Regions from separate parts of the Homo sapiens genome. Here region 2 is linked to region 1. The links are contacts of gene promoters, found by promoter capture Hi-C in human tissues and cell types (Jung and others, 2019). All regions are on one chromosome and are shown on one strand. Each heading gives the region's core, a stretch centred on a gene start or on the middle of the fragment in contact. The rest is flanking DNA. Distances are from core to core; before and after follow the strand shown. Region 1 holds the start of HIGD1C (HIG1 hypoxia inducible domain family member 1C). Region 2 overlaps ATF1 (activating transcription factor 1).

What was found. The method cuts DNA at HindIII sites, captures the fragments that hold promoters and counts their contacts. A contact is called where the count stands out against the background at its distance.
Region 2: a contact is called between a fragment that was not itself captured here and the fragment with the promoter of HIGD1C in region 1, in 1 of the 25 tissues and cell types used here (mesenchymal stem cells).

The regions. Positions count from the first base shown.
Region 1 is chr12:50,950,734-50,955,096 of GRCh38, reverse strand. It overlaps HIGD1C (HIG1 hypoxia inducible domain family member 1C), which reads right to left and starts at 2,553. Exons shown (of 5, transcript NM_001109619.4): 1 at 2,382-2,553; 2 at 1,838-1,892; 3 at 1,005-1,106. The coding sequence starts at 1,098. It also overlaps a transcript of SLC11A2 not described here. RefSeq lists an enhancer at 1,971-2,471. The HindIII fragment of the contact is 13,572 bases long and covers 1-4,363 here.
Region 2 is chr12:50,767,869-50,772,231 of GRCh38, reverse strand. All of the region lies in intron 1 of ATF1 (activating transcription factor 1), which reads right to left. Among named protein-coding and RNA genes, the nearest start is that of ATF1, 5.9 kb to the right of the region's middle. RefSeq lists enhancers at 2,324-2,824, 2,825-3,325. The HindIII fragment of the contact is 6,244 bases long and covers 1-4,363 here.

The DNA of each region.
Region 1 (4,363 bases), core at 1,304-3,803:
TGGTCTTGAATTCCTGACCTCAAGTGATCCACCTGCCTCGGCCTCTCAAAGTGCTGGGATTACAGGAGTGAGCCACTGTGCCCGGCCTAATTATAGTATCACTTCTTTAGTCCAGAATTTATTTTGCCATCAAACTCAACACCTGGAGCACACCAAGAAGCCAGCACAGAGGGCCACTGAGCAGCCAAAATGACCACTCCAAAGTTCATGCTCACAAGTGTTCAGATAGATCCAGGCTTTTACTCAGAGCTTTCCTCTGAATTGACCCACAGTTCTTTCAAGCTTGGTTATCTAGCTTCTGGTGCTACAGAGCATTAAAAACATTAGATGCAGAAGTTTTTGGTTTTTTGTTTATTTGTTTGTTTGTTTTTGAGACAGGGTCTCACTATGTCACCCAGGCTGAAGTGCAGTGGTGTGATCTTGGCTCACCGCAACCTGCACCTCCTGAGCTCAAGCAATCCTCCCACCTCGGCCTCCCAAAGCGCTGGGATTACAGGCATGAGCCACCGTGCCCGGCCTAGAAGCAGAAGTTTTTAATGTGCCCAATAGTAAGATAGAAACAGAAAAATCTATAAACAGAAGATGTAAGAACTTAAAGTTTAGATTACTTACAAGACAAAGAGACATATGCATCTCAATAGTCCCTAATAGGCTTTAAATATAATAAACTGATGCTGCTGTTGATGGTCCTGAGTTATGACTGAAATGTTAATATTCATTCAATCTATTCCATTTGACTGGCTAGGAACTAATAATTTTAGGTAGACTTCTAATGAAATGGATAAAATAGAATAAAATTTGATGCCTCAAATAACAGCTAACATTTACTGGGGGCTTACCATGTATTAGGAACTATTCTGAAAGTTCAACACATGCTTAGAGGAGGTTAGCTTCAATTATCTGAAAAAATTCAATTATAAGAAACATTTCAATCCGCAAAGGCACTGGGTAAGGCATCATTGTGTTATTACAGTTTTCTGCATCCAGTCAAGGCTTGTACTTACCTATAGGGACAAAGGGGGAGTCTCTAGATTTCCTGATTAGTCGGGATAATTGGCCTTCATCCTCATCTGCTGACCACTGGTTATCTGAAGACATTTTTTTCTCTAGTAACAATAGGATATAAATGTGGTTGCCGTGAATCATTAAAAATAATTTGTTTTTCCTCTCCCATCATACTCTTGATTATGTGTTTTTTTGTTTTCATTTGTTTGATAAGCCTATCTGCTCAACTGAAACAATTGTCTTTCCTTCACACTTTTCACTACCGAATTTTTTCATTTTGCAGGGGAAGGGGATAAGAAAAAAATACATAGAGGAAATGATAATCAGATTTCATGAATACAGAGTAAAAACACAGATCATAATGCTGTTATTCAGTCTCCTTTCCACTGCTCAGCATTTGAGATCACTGGGAACCTCAGGACTTCTTCCACAAGCACTGTATTTGAAGAACACATTTTCTTTTTAAAGTATCATTTTAAAGAAGTATGGCAGTGCCAACATAGGCAAAAATACTTCCAGATTTACAGGTATTGGGAGAATGATCACTTCAACTCTGCAGAATGTGCAGGGCATTATAAAGTCATTCAGATATTTACCAAGCACCTACTGTGTGCCAGTTGCTATGCTAGACAATGGATTCCTTGTCTAGCCTGGCTTGTCTACATAGGATGAATGAAGAAACTTGCAAAAGCAACTATAATCACAACAGATTTAGCAGCGCCTGAGTCTGTTCCCTGTGCAGCTTATTGTGTTCACCCCAGAATTCAAATACAGCGGCTTCATCCTATGAATGAGACTTCATCAGAAAACTTAAGCGTAAGAAGCACAATACCTGTGGCACACCCCGCCACCTGCTGTCTGTCTCCTGTTGTTCCTTCAGCAAGAGGCTGTAGATCAGAACAGGTGTTTGTTGTAAGGCCAGGACACGATGTGCAATTTCCAACTAATTGATAATGGGAAAGCCCAGAAACACGCCCCAGGGGACTGGGGGAGTGGTCGGCTGGTATTGGCCAAGATTTCCAGCACCCTGCTAGAAACTCACCAGTAGCAGCCTGGGCCACAAACTAGGCTTTTGAAGCCAACATTAAGAAAAACATGAAGGCTTTGGAAGAAGATGCATTTGCTTAAGTCTGCCTTCACAAGGGAGCTCCTGACTTCCCTCTGTGACTGTTGAGTCTTAGTACCTGACTCCTGGGCCCAAAATTGAGGGGAAAGAGGGCACAGGGTCACAACACTGGGCTTGGAGGGGAAGGGGAGAAGATAGCCATCAGAGGCCAGGATTCTTGCCATCCTTCGGAAACACGCCCTAGCCAGAGGAGGTGCGCTCCCTGCAGTTGGAATCTCCGGCTGAGGCGATGAGAGCCCGCCGGGCTCACCTGGCGGTAAGGCCATCGCAGGTGCGCCTCCTGCAAAGCCTCGAGCTGCACACGCGCCCAGGGGAAAGACGTGACGTTGCTGCACCTGTGGCTAGTCCCTGCGCCTGTGTGTGAGACCTGAGTGGGGCTGTGGAGACCCGAGAGGCTGTGGCTCTTGAGGTGGGTCGGTGGTGGACGTGGCCTTTGCTTCTGTTCTGACCTTGTAGCCTTGGGGCCCCTTGAGACCTTGGAGAACACCTTGCTCACCGCCTCCCTCCGACTGCAGCCATGTGGACCTAGAGATGAGGGCAGAGGATCAGGTAGCGTTCATGGTTTTTCCCTTGTAACTTAATGTTTAAATAATTTCAGACTTATAGAAAAGTCCCCAGAATAGTACAAAGAACTGTGTGTCTGGTACCCGCATTTTCCTTTATTAACATGTTTCTTTCTTTAAAAAATATTTTTGGCGAACCACCTGACAGTAGCAGACTTATGCCTTTTCTTCCATATACTTTTGTATGCATTTGGGGCATTCTTTTATTATATAACCATAGTACAGTGTTCAAAATCAGAAACTTAACATTGATATAATTCTGTTTTTCAATCTAAAGATTTTATTCATATTCACCAGTTGTCCCAATTATGTCCTTAATAGCAAAAAAAAAAAAAAAAAAAAATTTCTGGTCTAGCATCCAATTAGGATCATATATTGCATTTAGTTGTCCTGTTTCTTTAGTCTCCTTTAGTCTGAAACACCTTCCTAATCATCTTTGTCTGTCTTGACCTTGATTTTTTTTTCTTTTTTTTTTTTTTTGAGATGGAGTTTCGCTCTTGTCACCCTGGCTGGAGTGTGATGGCGCAATCTTGGCTCACTGCAACCTCTGTCTCCTTGGTTCAAGCAATTCTCCTGCCTCAGCCTCCCGAGTAGCTAGGACTATAGAAGCGCCACACCACGCCCGGCTAATTTTTTTGTATTTTTAGTAGAGATTTTGTTTCACAATGTTGGTCGGGCTGGTCTCAAACCCCTGATCTCAGGTGATCCACCCACCTTGGCCTCCCAAAAGTGCTGAAATTACAGGTGTGAGCCACCGCGCCCAGCCGACCTTGATGTTTTGCCAGTTATTTTGTAGGATGCCTCTCAATCTAATCCTGTGTTCCCGTCCCCTCCCCCAACTCATGTTTTCTCACTAGATTGAGGTCATACATTTTGGGCAGAATATGACAAAAATGATGTTGTGCTCTTCTTAGTGTGAAATATCAGGAGACACAGAAAGTTGAATTGCCTGGTGGTAGTTAACTTTGATCCAGTGTGGTGCTGACAAATGTTTAACAACTCAACTGGCTCTGGAGGGGGAGATATTGCCCTGTTCTGTGGCATTTGCCATTGCCCCATTCTGTGTTGTAAATATTCCCACCATGCCCAATTTCTAAATAGAGTCTGTCATCACGGAACACAAAGTTGGGAAATGTCCCTTTCCTGGGTTGGTAGGAATGGGCTCTAGCACACCACTGCTTTCATCATGTGGATTAACGTGGTGTCTGCCTGGTTCTCCACTGTGGTTACTTTTTTTTCTCCCTTTTAATTAATAAGTAGTTTCTGAACAGGTACTTTAATATTATACAAATATCCTGTTATTTGTCAGACTTTTACCCATTAATTTCAGTGTCTGTTGATGATCCTTGCTTGAATCCATTAATTTTAGTTTGCTAAATGGTGGTTTTTCTAAATATATCACCTTAAAAAAAAACTTATGGCCGGGCGCGGTGGCTCATGCCTGTAATCCCAGCACTTTGGGAAGCCAAGCAAGGCAGGTGGATCACCTGAAGTCAAGAGTTCAAGACCAGCCGGGCTAACATGGTGAAACCTCATCTCTACTAAAAATACAAAAAAAATTAGCTGGGCGTGGTGGCAGGCGCCTGTAGTCCCAGCTACTCGGGAGGCTGAGGCAGGAGAATGGCATGAATCTGGGAGGCGGAGGTTGCACTGAGCTGAGATGGCACCA
Region 2 (4,363 bases), core at 1,171-3,670, 180 kb after region 1:
CACTTTGTACCCTTAAGCGATAGGATCGCTTGAGCCCAGGAGTTTGAGACCAATCTGAGCAACACAGTGAGACGCTATTGTTACAGGACAGGGTCCCAATCCAGACCCCAACAGAGGGTTCTTGGATCTCGCACAAGAAATAATGGGTCAAGTCCACAGTGTGAAGTAAAAGCAAGTTTATTAAGAAAGTAAAGGAATAAAAGAACGGCTACTCCATAGACAGAGCAGCCCCGAGGGCTGCTGGTTGTCCATTTTTATGGTTATTTGTCGATGATATGCTAAACAAGGGGTGGATTTTTCATGCCTCCCCTTTTTAAACCATACAGGGTAACTTCCTGACTTTGCCATGGCATTTGTGAACTGTCATGGCGCTGGTGGGAGCACAGCAGTGACGACGACCAGAGGTCACTCTCGTGGCCATTTTGGTTTTGGTGGGTTTTGGCCGGCTCCTTTACTGCAACTGTTTTATCATCAAGGTCTTTATGACCTGTATTTTGTGCTGACCTCCTATCTCATCCCGTGACTTAGAATGCCTTAATCATCTGGGAATGCAGGCCAGTAGGTTTTAGCCTCATTTTACCCAGCCTGTTTAAGATGGAGTTGCTCTGGTTCATACGCCTCTGACATTTCCCCCCGTCTAAGAGAACCCTTAATCCTAAGGGTTGCAGAGGGACGAAGATCCATCTTCTATAACTTCTTCAGGCTAAATAGGGCAATGATATTCCTGCCTGCCTATGAGGGTCTCTTGCATTCAGGGTAAAAAGGAGCTCAGTCAGAAAGCATCAGTATGGTAAGGTTCATTCATAACTCAAGTTTCAACAAAAGGTGGTATCTGGAAAATTAGTAAGAAAACGTTCAGTAAGCTTGTCCTGTATTCCTACACAAAAAGTATAACAGCAATATATTCCACAAGAGTAAAGCAAAATAGGCTGGGTACAGTGGCTCACACCTGTAATCCAGCACTTTGGGAGGCCGAGGCAGGTGGATTACCTGAGGTCAGGAGTTCGAGGCCAGCCTGGCCAACATGGTGAAACCCTATCTCTACTAAAAATATAAAAGTCAGCTGGGCGTTGTGATGTGTGCCTGTAATTCTAGCTACTTGGGAGGCTGAGGCAGGAGAATCACTTGAACCCAGGAGGCGGAGGCTGCAGTGAGCCAAGATGGTGTCACTGCAGTCCAGCCTGGGCGACAGAACAAGACTCTGTCTCAAAAAGAAAGAAAGAAAAAAAAAAGAGTAAAGCAAAATAAGTAAAGTTATTCCAAATAAACTAAATTAGAAGACTTTTCATGAACCAGGCAACCACTGGAACTAAGCTGATATCGGGTTGTTAGCTGATTGTAATGTGCCCAGAATCAGAATACTGATCCAGATTTTTAAATTACCCATCCCTCTTATTTCTTCTGAGCAACAATTAGAGATTACTGGTTGGTTTACAAGAATACGCAGGGTTAGCCTAAATTGCAGAAACAAACTTAAAAACAATTAATGAGACCAGAATTTAATAACAAGTGTACCATAGTTTTTGAAACATAGTATTTCTCTCTCCAGTTTCCCATTTTTACTAAAGACAAATTATGGTAAGACTGACTTGCTTTATTATACTTGGCCTGATTGTTTGTATAAAGTGCAGCAAGAATAATAATTTTTCACATAGGCTTTTTAATTGGCTTTGATGGAACTCTGTTTCATAAGGAATCTCAGATAAGACTTTTTTAAAAGCCAAGCCCTGACATGGGTTTGTACCCTTAAATACCTATAACTTGGGTAAATTTCTCTCCTTTTGAGGTCCCAAGATAACTTGGGGCTCCTGGACAGGTGAGAAAGTGACATTCTTTACTTACCATAGGTCAGAAACCCTGTACAGGCACTGTGTAGGCAAGGTATGAGGCCAGTTCCCCAAAGGGCTTTTATTGGCTCTACAAGTCAAGTTTGATTCCTTAAAGAAAAGCACACCATTTCAGTCAAAGCCTTGGTAAAATAACCACTTTCTCCAATTGTATTCTGTTACAAAAGAAAACAGATTCTTATTGCACTTATGCAAATAATTACATTGCCATAAGTTAAGAATACTCACAACTAGTTTCCAAATTCTGGAGAAATCTGATATAGAGAAACAAATATGTTCCAAATTTCGTTCACAGCAGTATACTTTACTCAATTGCTATGAACTGTAAATAGCTCAAATGAAAAGTTTCCTTGACTCTGAAAAACAAAACAAAGGATCAGCAACATTTTAATCAAAGATTACTTCAGTTTTCTATTGGTTCAGTTGATTCAATTAACTCATGTTTCATTTGATATTCATGAACATTCTAGCTCTTCATGAGTTCTGAAAGTTGTTTCCTCTATTCTAATGTTACAATTTCCAAAGTTATTAGAAACCTGCATTTAAGAACACCTGCTAGAGTTCTATAGCTGATTATAAATCATCTTCTAAACAGGATTAAAACAAGACAACAATTGTCTGTGGATGATAAAAAGTTTTAGGAGAGCCACTATTAAAGCCAGAAATGATAAGGAAATTTGGTTACTTCTGTGGCACACAATATTTTGCATAACAATTATAATTATTAATAACATACACTAAATCATATTAGAATTATAGGAGTTTCCCATAACTTTGGAACATATACCAATAATACAGTTATGTAAATATAATCCAAAGAAAGCAAAACACCATTTGACATTTGATAATGCTTCCTGTATGAATTTTTTTTTTTTTTGAGATGGAGTCTCGCTCTGTCACCCAGGCTGGATAGAGTGCAGTGGTGCAATCTCAGATCACTGCAACCTCCCCCTCCCAGGTTCAAGCGCTTCTCCTGCCTCAGCCTCGAGTAGCTGTGACTACAGGTGTGCGCCACCATGCCCGGCTAACTTTTGTATTTTTTGATAGAGATGGGGTTTCACCATGTTGGCCAGACTGGTCTCAAACTCCTAACCTCAGGTGATCCATCTGCCTCGACCTCCCTAAGTGCTGGGATTACAGGTTTGAGCCACTGTGCCCGGCCAACTTAGAATAATTATTTAACTCTTTAGCCAAAAAACCCCACATTTCCATGCCTTCTTATAATCTTTTACCAAAAGTACATTCTATTTTCCTTACTACACACCTTACATGTAAAACTGTCTCTTCAATAGTCTCAGTTACATGTTCCAATTTTAACTTTTAGCGACTTTTACTTTTGGTGAAAACCCTGGTTAGTAAGCAATTTTAATTATGTACTAGGTGTGGAGCCTAGCCTAGGACACACCAGGCAGAAGTGCAGATAAGAGCTGACTCTCCAGCACAGCTTAGGGGCGTGGCTAACTCCACATGTCCCCAGGCCTTATCTAGAATCTAATGGCTTTAAGGTAGGGTAAATTGAACAATTTTTAAAAGTCAAAGAAACAGTTTATGACCTCAAATCATTTAACAAACTTAATATCTGACCTGCATAATTAAGATTAACATTTTTATCAATTTTAAAGATGTGTTTATTTCCTAAAGATTACTAAAGTTACATGAACTAAAAGGCATTAGTTATTTTGCTTTCAAAATATTTGATTTAAATGTTTATTTTTGTTTAAGCTGATTAATCAGAGCTCTTTTATATAAATATTACACACGACACCTATATAGCTACACAGAAAGACAGATGATGATGATAACAGTGGTTGTAAGATTTTTCATTTGCCAGTTTTTAAGTTTCTTAATTGGATTACCGGCTTCAGGGTGGAGCCCTTGGAAGAACAGGGCCACGAAAGGGGTCTCTGGTGCCTCTTGTTTTTCCCAAGGAGTCCAGGCTGTTAGAGCTTGAATATCCACTTTTAATTAAACTTATTTTAACCATAGCACTCTTTAATAAAGTCCTTTTAGAAGTTTTTATGCCAAACGGCTGGTATTTCTGGCTTTTGAATTTTATCAAAGGTAACCTCCCAGGTGCTTAGAAAAAGGAAAATATAAGACAGTTCACAGAGGAGAAGAGAATAGACAAAGTCATGCAGATATTAAACCAGAAACGACTTACTTCCTAGGTGGGTAATTGAACCTGGACTGTTGCCACGGAAGTGCAAAAGCTGGCTGGGTGCGGTGGCTCATGCCTGTAATCCCATCAGTTTAGGAGGCTGAGGCAGGTGGATCACCTGAGGTCAGGAGTTCGAGACCAGCCTGCCCAATATGATGAAACCCCATCTCTACTAAAAATACAAAAATTAGCTGGGCGTAGTGGCACACACCTGTAATCCCAGCTACTTGGGAAGATGACGCAGGCAAATCACTTGAACTCGGGAGGCGGAGGTTGCAGTGAGCTGAGATCGCACCACTGCACTCCAGCCTGGGCGACAGAGCAAGACTCCATCTCAAAAAAAAAAAAAAAGAAAGTG